Linked DNA regions of Homo sapiens: region 2 is linked to region 1. The links are contacts of gene promoters, found by promoter capture Hi-C in human tissues and cell types (Jung and others, 2019). All regions are on one chromosome and are shown on one strand. The core of a region is centred on a gene start or on the middle of the fragment in contact, and the rest is flanking DNA. Distances in the headings are between cores, read along the strand shown. Region 1 holds the start of SYCE3 (synaptonemal complex central element protein 3). Region 2 holds the start of TUBGCP6 (tubulin gamma complex component 6).

Region 1 (2,700 bases), core at 145-2,644:
ACTAGCTGGGCGTTGTGGCATGTGCTTGTAATCCCAGCTACTAGGGAGGCTGAGGCAGGAGAATCACTTGAACCTGGGAGGCGGAGGTTGCAGTGAGCCGAGATCGTGCCACTGCACTCCAGCCTGGGCAACAGAGCAAGACTCCGTCTCAAAAAAAAAAAAAAAGAATTATTCCCTATTCATGTTTCTCTGGGCTGCTGTAACAGAAATCGGCTCTGGGCTGTATAAGCAAATGGAAGTATGAAGAGCAGCTCACAGGTGGAAAGGGATGGCCAGAAAACCGGGTTCAACCGGGGCAGGAACCTGGCAGCTGGCGGAGGGAGTGTGGCCCAGGCAGCAGCCTCCTCAATAAACAAGCGAATGCTCACTCCTTGCCCAGAACTGTCTGGCTCAACCCCAGCCATTTTTCCTCCTCTGCAATCAGGCTGCTAAGAATCAGAATCCCTGAGAGAAAATTCAGGGGGTCTAAGGTTTGTCAGGATTCTCAAACACAAGGTGTTCAAAATCAAAGTTAACCTTCCAAGCTAGCTTCTCCCACTCTTCCACATCTCTGCCAGTGGTATCACCCCGGCCATTAGCCCCTTGCTTCTTTCTCCCTCCCTCCCACATTACCAAGCCCTGTCAAGTCGACCTTGGAATGGCTTTGACCCTGTCCACCACTCAGCCAAACAACAGCAACGGCCGGCCCCGTCGCCACCCGCCTCGGCAGCCAGAGACCTTTTAACTCTGCCACTCGCCTACTTACCACCCTTCTAGGGTGCCCACGTCCCTCTGAAAAAAAAGGCTGAGCTCAGACTGGCCTCTGGTCAGCCTCCTCCCAGCCAGAGCTTTCTGTCACTGCCCTTCTAGGTGTTGAGTGGCTCTGCTTCCAGTTCTTGCCTGGAGACCAGGAGCGCCCGGGAGGCCCCAGCACTTTCCAGCCCACATAGACCTGCGTGCACCTCTGCCTCGTCTCCCTGAGCCCGGGCTGCCTCCTCTGTAAGATACATGCCACATAATGTCCGCCACACATGATCGCTGTGACAGTGGAAATAGCTGGGCGTTCAGCGACTCATTCGACAAATGTTTACCAGCACCTTTGGTACCGGGCGCTGTCCTGGACACTGGGGACACAGCAGGCAAACGGGGCCCTGCGTATAAATCCTTAAGCTCAAGAAGGAGGTGGGGGCAAAACTGTCAGGCCGGGAAGCTCTTCATCTCCGCAGGATTCTCCCTCAACCTCAGGACGTCCCCAGCACCGCACCTGCCAGTCCCAGACTCGGACGCCGCAGACCTGTGGGAGCAGCGCGGAATGCCCCGCCCCTTTTCCCGAGGACACCCAATGAGGGCGAGAGGTCACTTCCGGGGAGGGTTCGCTAACGGAAAGGGCGGGGCATCCCTCTCGAGGAGCGGCCTTGTTCCTCAAGCGGCCGCTGGGGGCGCCAGAGCAGGACCGGAGCGCGGGCCAAGCTGGAGGTGAGCGAGGCCGCGCCCCCCTGGGCCCCGGCCCTCCCAACGCGCCCTGACGGCTGGGCTCCGCCTGACCCTGTCCTAGCGTTCGCGGTGGCACCAACCTCAAGCCAGACCCTTGACTTCGACCCAACTCCACTCACCCGACTCCACTCACTCCACACCCCATGCCCCTCCCCCGACGCCCCTCACCCCGCCTCACCCTTCACCCCTCATCGCTCACGTCACCGCTCACCCGCCTCCTCACCCAGCCTCGCCCCTCACCCCTCACCCCGCCTCACCCCTCACCCCGCCTCACCCCTCACCCCTCATCCCGCCTCACCCCTCACCCCTCATCCCGCCTCACCCCTCACCCCTCCTCACCCCGCCTCACCCGCCTCGCCCCTCACCCCTCACCCCTCCTCACCCCGCCTCACCCCTCACCCCTCACCCCGCCTCACCCCTCACCCCGCCTCACCCCTCACCCCGCCTCACCCTTCACCCCTCACCCCGCCTCACCCTTCACCCCTCACCCCGCCTCACCCCTCACCCCTCACCCCGCCTCACCCTTCACCCCTCACCCCGCCTCACCCTTCACCCCTCACCCCGCCTCACCCCTCCTTACCCCGCCTCACCCGCCTCGCCCCTCACCCCTCATCGCTCACGTCACCGTTCACCCGCCTCCTCACCCAGCCTCACCCCTCACCCCGCCTCACCCCTCACCCCGCCTCACCCCTCACCCCTCCTCACCCCGCCTCACCCCGCCTCACCCCTCCCCCGCTCCCCTCACTGCACACTCCATACCCCACTCTCCCCACCTTACATCCCTCACCTCAGTCCTTCACCCCCTTAACCTAATCTCCATGTCCTCACACCATACACTCCTGATCCTGAAGTCTGCACACCCTGGGCTTCTCATTCCGTGCAGCCTGCCCCTCTTACCCTCACACCTGCCACACCTGGGACCCCGGAGTCCACACACCACCTCACACCCCAAGTTCCCACACGCACCTCTGGCTTCCTCCACCTGCACTTCAGGACCCGCCCAGACTCTTCATAGCCCAACTCCAAGACTTCTCTCCCACATCACAGGTGCATTCCCTTCCTGTGCTGCTCTCATCCCGTACAAAAGAGCACATCTCTGCACCAAGCATCCCTCTTATCCCCTCACATTCCTTGTTCTCAGAGGGATCCCAGACTCTGTTAGAAACTCTTCGTACCAGGCAAGACACTCAGACCACAAACCAGACTCTAGGCTCTGACTCGCTCAAC
Region 2 (2,700 bases), core at 180-2,679, 320 kb after region 1:
TTCCACCTCTGCCTCTGCGGTTTGGGCTCAGGAGGGTGAGCAGGGCCTTACACTTATGCACCTGTGTCCTGGAAGGAGGAGTCTGTGGCTGAACATCAGGGGCAAGGAGGCGGCTGCCCTATCCATGTTCCATGTCTCCACGCCACTGCCAGTGGTGAGTGACCATGCCACGCGGCAAGGCAGGTGCTGGGGAGCCCATGGATGTGTACAGCTGCTGTTTGCTGGCATTGTCATGATAGCAGGCCTCTGGTCCTTCCTGTCTCCCTGCTCCTACTCCAGGGGCCCTGAGATTGGGAGGTTGGGAGGCCAGAGCCAGCAGGTGTCCGTAGATGAGGAGCTGGGCTCTGCTGTCCCCACAGATGACCGGTGGTTTCCTGAGCTGCATCTTGGGCTTGGTGCTGCCCCTGGCCTATGGCTTCCAGCCTGACCTGGTGCTGGTGGCGCTGGGGCCTGGCCATGGCCTGCAGGGCCCCCACGCTGCACTCCTGGCTGCAATGCTTCGGGGGCTGGCAGGGGGCCGAGTCCTGGCCCTCCTGGAGGAGGTAAGCTGGGCAGGGTGGAGGTGCTGCGGGGTGGGACGAGGGAAAGGACCAGTGACTGCTTCCGTCTTCGCCCCTGGTCCAGAACTCCACACCCCAGCTAGCAGGGATCCTGGCCCGGGTGCTGAATGGAGAGGCACCTCCTAGCCTAGGCCCTTCCTCTGTGGCCTCCCCAGAGGACGTCCAGGCCCTGATGTACCTGAGAGGGCAGCTGGAGCCTCAGTGGAAGATGTTGCAGGTGAGGCTGACTGCGGAGGCATGGCCCTGCCCTGGGGCCTGGCTCTGCCGCACAGATCGGTGGGGAGGGCAGGGCAGGGGAGTGCCCTGAACCAGCTCCAGCGCCGGAGGCCAACTGCGCGCCTCTTCTCGGCTCCTCCTGTAGTGCCATCCTCACCTGGTGGCTTGAAATCGGCCAAGGTGGGAGCATTTACACCGCAGAAATGACACCGCACGCCAGCGCCCCGCGGCCGCGATCCGGACCCCAAGCCCACGGCTCCCTCGACTCTGGGGCACGGAACCCCGCCCACTCCCAATCCCCGCGCCCCGCCCTCTCCCACCCGTGCTTCCCCCGCTCCACCCCTCACCTCACCTCGCCCCCGCCCCACCCATCGCGCCCCGGCCCGTCCCATCGAGGCCCATGCAACCCACGCTCGGTCCCGTTCCGGCCCCTGCGCCCCGCTGCGCTTCGCTCCCCGCCCTTGCGCCGTTAGTAAACATCGCTCAAACGAAACGCTGGCTCTGCCTCCTTTACTGAGCACGCTCGGCCTCGGTCTCTCACCCGCGGTGCCGGACTCAGGCCGGAAGTATGCCGCGGCCCAGGCCTCACCAACTTCACGCGCTGCCGGCGTTCCCGTGACGTATTTCCGGCGCGCCCGCCCTAGTGCTCTTCACACTGGCGCGGCTGTGACGCGACGGAGGCGGCGAGAGCGGCAGCCGTGGGCACTTTCCACGGGTGAGGCCTGGAGAACGGGTGGACGTGCAGGCCAGAACCCGGGACCCACCCGGCTGAGCCCCCAGACTCTCCGCTGCCCACGACCCTCGGAGTGGCACCCTCTCCTGGCCGTCTCCTCTCGTGGGTCCCGAAGAACGGGTGCAAAGCCGAGTTCGTCCGCTGTACTGCGCGGGCGCGCGTTTCGTTCTTCGGTTTTGCCACGGTTCTGTGACTCCCTAAAGGTTGAGGGCTACTGAATTAGAAGAAACGCCGAGCTGGCTTCTGGTGGGCTGCCGGGCGCCGGGCAGCGTGCTTGGACTGGGGAGGGCAGGGCGTGTTTACTCTGAGTAGAGCAACCGCAAGACCTCCTTTAAAAAATACCAGTTCTGAGCTTCGGCATTGGAGAGGCCGCCTGTCATTCAGCCTCTTCGGACCCTCTCTCACTCCCTGTCTTCCGGAGCGTGAGTGAAGCCCGGGTGAGGTGTTTTCCCACACGCCGGGGGCCCGGAGCTGAGAAGGGGCATGGCCAGCATCACGCAGCTGTTCGACGACCTGTGTGAGGCCCTCCTGCCGGCTGCCAAGACTCACCTGGGCCAGCGCAGTGTGAACCGGAAGAGGGCAAAGCGGAGCCTCAAGAAGGTGGCCTACAATGCTCTTTTCACAAATCTTTTTCAAGATGAGACTCAACAGCTGCAGCCTGACATGTCAAAACTACCAGCGAGAAACAAGATCCTCATGTTGTCCTTTGACTTGAGAGTGGGTGGCCTGGGCCCCAAGGCCGACCGTTTGGAGGAGCTTGTGGAGGAGCTGGAAGCAGCCCCTTGCTGTCCGCTTTTGGAGGTGGGGTCTGTTTTGGACCTCCTGGTTCAGCTGGCAGGGAGTGGTCCCCCTCAAGTTCTGCCGAGAAAACGAGACTACTTCCTTAACAACAAGCATGTGGGGAGAAACGTTCCGTACAGCGGCTATGATTGCGACGACCTGAGTGTGTTTGAGATGGACGTTCAGTCTCTGATCTCCAGAGAAGAGTGTTTGTGTCACAGCATGATCCAGGAAACACTTCAGGTTATGGAGGCTGCTCCAGGCACTGGCCTGCCCACCGTCGGGCTCTTCTCATTTGGTGACCCTTGTGGTGACAGGTTCGAGAGAGACACCCGGGTCTCGCTCTTCGGGGCCCTTGTGCACAGCCGCACTTATGACATGGACGTCCGACTGGGCCTGCCCCCCGTGCCA

The links. The method cuts DNA at HindIII sites, captures the fragments that hold promoters and counts their contacts. A contact is called where the count stands out against the background at its distance.
Region 2: the fragment with the promoter of TUBGCP6 here is called in contact with the fragment with the promoter of SYCE3 in region 1 in 3 of the 25 tissues and cell types used here (heart left ventricle, lymphoblastoid cells and spleen).

Annotation. Positions count from the first base shown.
Region 1 is chr22:50,561,613-50,564,312 of GRCh38, reverse strand. SYCE3 (synaptonemal complex central element protein 3) reads left to right here and starts at 1,394. Exons shown (of 3, transcript NM_001123225.3): 1 at 1,394-1,455. LOC107985568 (a long non-coding RNA gene) reads right to left here and starts at 1,352. Exons shown (of 2, transcript XR_001755606.3): 1 at 746-1,352. RefSeq lists a silencer at 1,293-1,702. The HindIII fragment of the contact is 12,147 bases long and covers 1-2,700 here.
Region 2 is chr22:50,243,752-50,246,451 of GRCh38, reverse strand. It overlaps TUBGCP6 (tubulin gamma complex component 6), which reads left to right and starts at 1,429. Exons shown (of 25, transcript NM_020461.4): 1 at 1,429-2,700. The coding sequence starts at 1,993. HDAC10 (histone deacetylase 10) reads left to right here. Exons shown (of 20, transcript NM_032019.6): 17 at 76-154; 18 at 360-542; 19 at 625-777; 20 at 922-1,269. The coding sequence ends at 945. RefSeq lists a silencer at 1,057-1,126 and enhancers at 1,597-1,646, 2,057-2,336, 1,910-2,700. The HindIII fragment of the contact is 41,268 bases long and covers 1-2,700 here.